2 separate regions of the Homo sapiens genome follow, and region 2 is linked to region 1. Evidence: promoter capture Hi-C in human tissues and cell types (Jung and others, 2019). All regions are on one chromosome and are shown on one strand. Each heading gives the region's core, a stretch centred on a gene start or on the middle of the fragment in contact. The rest is flanking DNA. Distances are from core to core; before and after follow the strand shown. Region 1 holds the start of CDK18 (cyclin dependent kinase 18). Region 2 has its middle 33 kb from the start of NUAK2.

Evidence for each region. Contacts are between HindIII fragments. The study calls those that stand out against the background at their distance.
Region 2: a fragment that was not itself captured here is called in contact with the fragment with the promoter of CDK18 in region 1 in 1 of the 25 tissues and cell types used here (hippocampus).

The regions. Positions count from the first base shown.
Region 1 is chr1:205,502,475-205,507,141 of GRCh38, reverse strand. It overlaps CDK18 (cyclin dependent kinase 18), which reads right to left and starts at 2,473. Exons shown (of 16, transcript NM_212502.3): 1 at 2,346-2,473. RefSeq lists an enhancer at 1-549. The HindIII fragment of the contact is 16,948 bases long and covers 1-4,667 here.
Region 2 is chr1:205,286,745-205,291,411 of GRCh38, reverse strand. No RefSeq gene overlaps it. Among named protein-coding and RNA genes, the nearest start is that of NUAK2, 33 kb to the left of the region's middle. The HindIII fragment of the contact is 8,183 bases long and covers 1-4,667 here.

The DNA of each region.
Region 1 (4,667 bases), core at 1,224-3,723:
GGAGATGCTGGACAAAAGTCCCAACAGGGTGATCCCAGAAAGTAGAGGCTTGGTTAGGGTAGGAACCGGGAAGAGTCAAGCCGGGCTCTGCCCTACAGTGTAGGACGCATTCCCGAGTGCGGGACGGCCCAAGTAGGCAGAGGACAGAGTCCGAGTCTGTAGAGGAAGCAAATGCACCCTGAAAGGCAGCTCCATGTCCTCTAGACCTGAGCGGGGGTTTGCAGGGCTGGCAACCTGATCCCACGAGATCTCAGACCAAGAACCTATTTGCTCCTCAGATCTGGTGCCCTCTCTCCTGTGCCCCATGGAGAAGCCTGGCTCTGCCTAGTGCAGGACAGACAGATGGGAGCCTCAATATTTGGAGCATCACCCCCATTCTTTCTTCTCCTGAGGACTGACGCAGACCAGAGAACTCCAGAGTGGGCCGGAACCTCCCCACAATGGGGCAGGGGTTAACAGCAGGGGCTTGGGGTCAGACGGAAGTGGGCTGGATCCCACCTCTGTGTGACCTTGGAAAAGTTGGTCTCTCAGAGACTCAGTTTCTTCACCTGTAAAATGGGGATGATAATAATACCTACTTCATAAAGTTGTGACGCACTGCTTGGCGCACAGTAGATATTCAACAAATGGTGGCCACTAAGGCTTGTCTACTCTGCCTCTGGCACCCCCGATAAGTTTGGGAAGAACTTCTTCTGGCACGCGTGGAGAGCTTCTTCCATTCTCCTGGCAGGGTATGGGGAGAGTCCTGGGGACCCAGTGGGGAGAGTCCTGGGAACCCAATGGTCAGGTACACCCCAGATTAAGGGTGGGGGAGGGGTCAGCCCCACAGCCTCCTCAGCTGCACAAGAGGTGGCTGGGAAAGGGTAACCCGAGATAGCAGCTTTGCTGTGGCAAGGTGACCCTCTCTCTGGAACGCCTTCAGGATGCAAACCCGGACCTGGAGCCAGTGTCGCCCTGTACTCCACCGACCCTCAGCACCCTCAGCACCGTTTTCCCAGGCCCCTCCCAAGGCCAGGCTAAAGGCAGGGGATCTCTGAGGACGTGCCAGTCCACCAGGCGCTCCAGGCATCCTCTCAGGCCCGTGTCCAGGAATGTGCTGCATGCCCATGCCCGGGTGGGGAATGCCACGCGAACATGCCGAAGCTCACTGGGTGCTGACACAGGAGGGGCAAGCCGGTGGTGTTAGTGAGTCACAGGGCCCAGGCTACAGCTGGGGAACTGCCGAGGGCTGGGCTAGGGGTGGGGAAGAAGGGGAGACAGTAGCAGATAGCGCGGAAGAGGTTCCAGGGCCTCTCACTCCCACAGTGTCAATCCTCCCACCCCGACTGCCGGGAGGTGCCCAGAGAGAATGAAGAGAGGCAGGGCTGGTGCCTAGGAGGGTGCTGACCCTGCAGCACAGAAAACCCCTCACTGTTTCTGCAGCCCAACTCCCACCCAGCACAAGGTCTGCAGACACCTTCAGGGAATCCCCGCCCCCCACAGGGCGAAAACAGAGGCCTCCAGTCCAGACCCGATTTTGGATTTCAGATTCCTGATGGTGTCCCTCAACTACAGCAGAATCCTCAAGGCACATCTCCTTAGCCCAACAGGTCACCGCCCACTCCCCCCGGCCCCACCCAGCCTCCTTTCCCTCTGCTGCATTAACCCTCTGTCGCCTGTTGATGAGGGGTGGAGGGGGGCACTGCCCCTTTGGTCTTCCGGGGTGGAAAGAGAGAAGCAGCAGCATTCCCCAGACCCCTGCCTCCCCCAGAACTGGGACCTGCAGGGCTTCACGTGTCCTTCCACGTTCTTCCCAGGGCTCCGGCCTCCCACCCCCTGCCTGCCGCTCTGGAAAGTTCACCAGAGCCCAGGAAGCCCTTCAAGGCAGCGATGTGGCCCCACACTCTCGGGTCCTTTGGTCCCTGGAGACTCCTGACCCTTGCCCTTCCCAGAATGAAGGGAGCTTAGAAAGCGCCTGGTTCCGGACTGGGTGGAAAACTTTGCTTTGTAGGGTTCAGACGGGAGCCCAGGGGCCAAAGTGATCCCAGATGGAGACTCCCTAAGGGGGCGCGGGGTCTGAGATTGCAAAATAACCCTCCCTCTCAAGCACCTGGAACTTACGAGTGGCCTTTCGAGGGCACCCCCCACCCCTCAACACACAACACAGTATCACACAGATCACGCCTCGTGATCTCTGCTCTCCCCTCGCCGCTCCGGTATTTCCCTCCAACCTCTCGCCTCAGGGCAAAAGCAAAACTGCGCCTTTAAGAGCCGTTCCGCTTACCTTTGCTCCTTATACCCGGCGCCGCGGTGCCCGCTCCTCCGACCTCCCCCTTCCTCCCAGGCGCACCGCCCGCGGGACTCACAGCGCGTGTCCTGGGGGCCGCGGTGCGCCCGCTCCCTCCCGGGCACGGGGCAGCTTCCCCTGCTCCGGAAAGGTGAGCAGTTCCCCAGAGAAGCTGCAACCTGAGCTGGCCGAGGAGGAGGTAGAAGGGGAGGGGAAGGGAGGGAGTGGAGGAAGGTGGGGAAGAGGAGGGAGGAGGAGGAGGAGGAGGAGGAGGAAGGAAAATGCCCGGCCCCCGCCAGAGTTTTTCACATGTACAAGTTGACTCCGCCCCCGGCCCTCCCGCCCTGCCCACAGCCGCTACCAATCCCCAGGGCTCCCTCTGCCCGGGTGCCCACCCCTTTCTCCCACTCTGGGAACCAGGGTCCAAGTGCCTCTTCCTGTTTCGTTTCTAAAACCGGCCCTGAGAGCCTTGGCTAGGGGATGAGGCCTTCTGGACTGGATCACCCCAGGACACCAAGGCGCCAGGGGTACACTGAGAGTGCCTGCCTGTCTCTAAAAGCGGTGCTCCTACCTCTCCTAGGTACCTCCCTGTACCTGGCGCCCTAGGAACGAATGTGCATGGACAGATTTTGGTGGTCATTTTCTTGACAATAGTAGCCCTCGGGCTCCCCTTCTACCCTATCCAGTGGGACTTGTCACTTACCTTTCCGGACAAAGTTCCCACCTCTCCAGGACCTGAATGAAGCCCTTGTTACCAGCCATCATTCACATTTCCCTCCCCGAAGGATAATTCAACTTGTCCTTTTGGAATTAAACTCCACAGGATATTTGAGAATCATCCAAGAAGGGTTACAGAATGGCTAGTTCAGCTAGTGGCACTCTCATTTTACAGAAGGGGAAACTGAGGCCCAGCAAAGCAATTGAACTGGCCTAAAGTGCCACAAGAGTTCATGGCGAGCCATGATTAGAACTCAGGCCAATGGCCATTGCACCCACATCATCTGACTTCAAGGATCAAAAAAAAAAACAAAACAAAAATCTGGGGATGGGGGTGAAGGGCACAGTGCCCCACCGCCAGGCCCCTCTCATCTCTGCTTCCTCCTGAGGGCTGTGAGGAGAGGAGGTGTGCCTTGGCTCTATGGCACCTCATCAAGGCAGTCTGTGTCCCCTGCCCTACCAGAGGGCTTGGCTGCTGCAGTCTGGGGTCTCCCACAGGGAAAGTCTCCTTAGGAGGGGGTGCTCCACAGTGTACATGTGCTTCTACCTGAACCCTTTCCCTGGGGACTGTGAGTTGTTGAGAATAGAACAGTTTCCTTCTGGAAGACATGGGCCTGAGGTCCCACTGTCAGCTGGAGACAGGAGAATGAAGGAAGACACTGGGCCCATGCATGAAAGTGACCTGTGGGTAGTTGACATCTCACAGAGGGCCTCCCAACTCTTTTTTTTTTTTTTACCTCGCTTTCTCTGCCAAGGCATGCAGATTTCCTGGGCACAGCACTTCCTAAAAATGAAACTGCCAAGTGTTGTCGGGGTGCATGGATCCAGAGCCTTTAGGTGTGCAGCAACCTCCTGGCTCTGTAGTCCAGTGGATGGTGAGAAGCCTGGGGAGCAGGAGGCCATAAAGAGGTTTGGAAGGGGCAGGGAGGGAAAGGGAGAAGGACTATGGCCAAGGAACTGTTTACTGGCGGATTAGAGAGAGTGGGGCCAAAGGGTAGAATTTCAAGGAACTAGGGGGGTGAAGTCAAGAGGTCTCCACAAACACTTTCTCAACATCTCTTATGTGCCAAATGATAGCCAGGGCTCTGGGCACATAAGATGAGTATAACCCAGTCCCTGCCTTCAAGAAGCTCTTGGTGTAATGCGGCAGGGAAGCAAACAGTTAGGATGCTATAGGAGGAGGCTTAGTGTTACGGATGCCTGGGAGGAGCTATTCTGCTTGAGGTGAGGGTTACAGGATGAGGGGACAAGAGAGAGGAGGAAGGATTTTCCCTGTTTTTTCCAGGAGGGGTAATCCCTTGTGCAGAGTGCAGGGGTGACAGAATATGGACCCACAGTTCCATGAGGTCAGAACTTAAAGTCTGGGGTGGAGGTGACACTGTAGAGGCAGGCAGGTGCTGGGTCCTGAAGACCCCCAACGTGGAGGCTGATCCTAGTGGAAAATGAGAATGAGCTTAGACCACACAGCGGCAGCAGGGAGGAGAGGAGGGAACTGATTTGAGAGATAGGTAGGAGACAGGGTCATGGAGCCTTGTGACTATTGGATTCTAGAAGATAAGGGAGCCAACAGTGTCAAGATTAGAAGCACTGATGTGATAGGCTGAGTGGGACCTTGGAGCTTCTTAAGTGAGCCTTGATTCCCAGCACCTCCTTAGATTGCTCTGTGAACTTGGGCAAGCGAACT
Region 2 (4,667 bases), core at 1,271-3,770, 220 kb after region 1:
TATTTTTTTGAGGCAGAGTTTCACTCTGTCGCCCAGGCTGGAGTGCAGTGGCGCAATCATGGTTCACTGCAGCCTTGACCTTCTGGTCTCAATTGATGAATATATTTAACACTATTGAACTATATGCTTAAAAATGGTTAAGATGGGCTGGGCACGGTGGCTCACGCCTGTAATCCCAGCACTTTGGGAGGCTGAGGCGGGTGGATCACGAGATCAGCAGATTGAGACCATCCTGGCTAACACGGTGAAACGCTGTCTCTACTAAAAATACAAAAAATTAGCCGCTCGTGGTGGTGGGCACCTATAGTCCCAGCTACTCGAGAGGTTGAGGCAGGAGAATCGCTTGAACCCAGGAGGCAGAGCTTGCAGTGAGCTGAGATCGCACCACTGCACTCCAGCCTGGGCGACAGAGTGAGACTCAGTCTCAAAAAAAAAAAAAAATGGTTAAGATGGTAATTTTATGTTATGTTTTTTAACATAATTTAAAATTGAAAAATCAAAAAATATTTGTAAAATAATGTAGAACAATGCCACTCTCCTCAATAATTTTTTTTGTTTTGAAAAATTATTTTTTGTACATATGTACATAATGAGATATTACTGTTATCTTAATTCCTGCTTTTTTTTCTTTTTTTGAGACTTACTCTGTCACCCAGGCTGGAGTGCAGTGTCGTGATCTCGGCTCACTGCAACCTCCGCCTCCCAGGTTCAAGTGATTCTCCTGCCTCAGCCTCCTGAGTAGCTGGGATTACAGGCATGTGCCACCATGCCCGGCTAATTTTTGTATTCTTCTTTTTTTTTTTTGAGATGGAGTTTTGCTCTTGTTGCCCAGCCTGGAGTGCCATGGTGAGATCTTGGCTCACCGCAACCTCCACCTCCCGGCTTCAAGCGATTCTCCTGCCTCAGCCTCCCAAGTAGCTGGGATTACAGGCGCCTGCCACCATGCCTGGGTAATTTTTGTATTTTTAGTAGAGACGGGGGTTTCTCCATGTTGGCCAGGCTGGTCTGGAACTCCCGACCTCAAGTGATCCACCCGCCTTGGCCTCCCAAAGTGCTGGGATTACAGGTTTGAACCACCGCGCCTGGCCTTAATTACTACTTTTAAAATGTCTGTTTGCCTTTCTAATATGGTAAATACCAGTAGCTATCATTCACCCACATCAACAAAGCTTCTTTGGGTGTCCTCAATAATTTCTAACAGTGTAAAGAGATCCTGAGATCAAAATGGTTGAGAACTGCTGCTTTCATGCGAAGGAATACAAGGTTGGGTGCAGCGACTCACGCCTGTAATCCCAGCACTCTGGGAGGATGAGGCGGGTGGATCACTTGAGGCCAGGAGTTCAAGACCACCCTGGGCTATATGGCGAAACCCCATCTCTACTAAAAATGCAAAAATTAGCTGAGCATGGTGGTATGTGCCTGTAATCCCAGCTATCTGGGAGGCTGAGGTGGGAGGATCCCTTGAGCCTAGGAGGTTGAGGCTGCAGTGAGTTGAGATCACACCACTGCTCTCTAGCCTGGGTGACACAGTAAGACTGTCTCCAAACAAAAAGAGAAGGAATACAGCAGGCAGGGGGTTGCCAGATAAAAGAAAGGATGTCCAGTTACATTTGAATTTCCGATAAACAATGAATTTTTTTTTAGTATAATATTACACAGGACATGCTTAACTAAAAAGTTATTCATTTTTTTTTTTGTTTTTTTTTTTTTTGAGACGGAGTCTTGCTCTTTTGCCCAGGCTGGAGTACAGTGGTACAGTCTCGGCTCACTACAACCTCCGTCTCCTGGGTTCAAGCAATTCTCCTGCCTCAGCCTACTGAGTAGCTGGGATTACAGGCGCACGCCACCACACGCGGCTAATTTTTGTATTTTTAGTAGAGATAGGGTTTCACCATGTTGATCAGGCTGGTCTCGAACTCCTGACCTCATGATCCGCCCACCTCAGCCTCCCAAAGTGCTGGGATTACAGGCATAAGCCACTGCCCCTGGCCTTCTATTCATTGTTTATCTGAAATTCAAATTTAAATGGGTGTTCTGTGTTCTGTATTTTTACTTGCAAAATATGGCAACCCTAATAGCAGGAGAGATTTGGGTTAGTCAACAGGATGAACTTGGATCAGATATTGGGATTCTGACCCAGGGAAGGATGGAGAATCCCCTATTCTGGACAGCTTTAAAAAAGGAGAATGTGGGCCAAGTGTGGTGGCTCATGCCTGTAATCCCAGCACTTTGGGAGGCCAAGGCAGGCGGATCACCTGAGGTCAGGAGTTCAAGACCAGCCTGACCAACATGGAGAAACCCCGTCTCTACTAAAAATACAAAATTAGCCGGGTGTCGTGGTGTATGCCTGTAATCCCAGCTACTTGGGAGGCTGAGGTAGGAGAATCGCTTGAACCCAGAGGGCGGAGGTTGCGGTGAGCTGAGATCACACCATTGCACTCCAGCGTGGGCAACAAGAGCAAAACTCTGTCTGGAAAAAAAAAAAAAAGAAAAAAAAGGAGAATGTGGCCAGGTGCGGTGGCTCACACCTATAATCCCAGCACTTTGGGAGGCTGAGGTCAGGAGTTCAAGACCAGCCTGGCCAACATGGAGAAATACTGCCTCTACTAAAAATACAAAAATTAGCCAGGTATGGTGGCACATGCCTGTAATCCCAGCTACTCAGGAAGCTGAGACAGGAGAATCACTTGAAGCTGGGAGGCAGAGGTTGCAGCGAGCCAAGATCGTGCCACTGCACTGCACTCCAGCCTGGGCAGCAGAGTGAGACTCTACCTCAAAAAAAAAAACAAAAAAAAAAAGCAAAAAAAAAGAAAGGTGAATGTGTCTGAGGACTGAAGGGCAAGCCTCTAAATGCTTAGGGGTAGAGTTTATAGTCAGAGGGACCTTCCTGCAGCTGGGCCAGAGACTCACCCACCCTCTAGAAACCTCAGCAGCTGAGGATGAACAAAACCCACAGGAAGTGGTGGAAGTGAAACTTGGTGTCAGTGTTGTTGTTATTAAAAGGGGGAAGTGACACCGGGTGAGTGAAGGGTGGGTGGAGGTGAAGTCTCTATAGGCAGCGAGGTCATTCGGCAGCGCCCCCCTTCCTGCTCTGCTAAGAATAGTTACGGTTGTGATAGGGGTGTGGTTTGTCTGAGGCTGGGGGAATGAATCTCGCTTGATGTCTGGATGGGGCAGAGCAGAAGTAGCACTGGGGTGGTCAGAGCTTCAAGTCAGGTGGCAGCAAAACCTAAGAAGCATTTTTGGGTTTGGAAATAAACAAATAAGTGGCCTCAGAAGCAGCTCAGAGGAGAAGGATCCTGCCTTCCAGCTAAGAGAACTATAAGAGGGAAGCAGGGCCCATGACCATGACAGTCCCTCCTCTAGTCAGCTTGGGAAGCTCTGAGAAGCTCTTTCCATTAAGAGAGTCAGGGATGCTCCAGAAATCAGGCTGGCAGGGAGGCTGCAGTGCGTTTTTGTCTCTAGCACTTACTGAGCACTTACTGTGTGCTTGACATTGTGCCAGGCCCTGAGGCTCCAGAATTAAATACAGTGTGGTTCCTGCGCTCCAGAGGTTGGAAGTCCAGTGGAAGAGATATGCATCAAACTAATATAAATTCATGAATTCATTGTGATCAGAGGTAATAGTTGAAAGCCCAAGCAGCAGCCTACCTACTGTGAGCCTGAGCCCACCCCTCAGCAACTCCCCAGCCCTGGCCCAGGCTGCAAACCAACAGAGGCCGGAGTCACCCAGCTGCCTGCAGAGCAGTGCATCAAGTCAGGACCCTTTCTCTGCCCAGACGTCTTTGCCAACTGTTTGGAACAAAGGGAAATCATCTGGTTTGGGGAAAGACATAAGAATGACCGTTTTCTTTCCTAAACCTTCACCCTCTCCCATTTCGGCCTGAGAAAAGCTGTTAGATGCTTCTTCAGAGGGTTTCTAAGGGCCACAATTGCCTTCCACCTAAGAGGGAACAGGGTGGGGAGGGGTGGCAATGGCCTTCTTTGACCGCAGAGGTTTTGGATTTAGCCTGAAGTCACAGAACAACTGAAGCCAAGAGACAGTTCACCCTTTCTGGTGTCTAGAGCTTATTGAACAAATGTCCATTGACCCCCTATTGCTAGGGGCAGGGGTGAAATATTGAGTTGAGTCCAGGGCTCCAGCCTACTAGAGGCACAGTCTGTAGAGAAGTCAGATAATGACCAGGCGGTGCCTAAGCTGGATCTGAATCCAGGGCCTTTAGTCATCAGACACTGGACAGATTCTTCGTGGAGGGAGTTGGGCCTTGAAGGCTGAAGAGTTTTCTGGGTCAAGTACATGTTTAGGGAGCAAGAATTCCTTGGAAACTTAAAAACTGGTCTCCCATGGTCAAGTCTGGCTCCTGTATGTGAACATCATACACACAGAACATGGCTCTGTATCCTGACTCCTATGCACCCCCGGCCACATTGTATACTCCTGCTTGTATGCTCCTGGCCAGTGAGGTGTCTGCAGTCTTGGGACAAGTGGTGGCCAGGGAGTCTTTGTCCCCTGGGTTCCTGGGGTTCAGGCTTCAGGTCTGGTTTCTGCCGTTGCCCCTCCTCTGGTTCCCTCCTTCTCACAAGACACAGCCTGACAACCTGGCCTTCTCTCTGCCTTCGTTAGGAGGGAGGCTGCTCAAACCACAGCTCACCACAGCTCACCACAG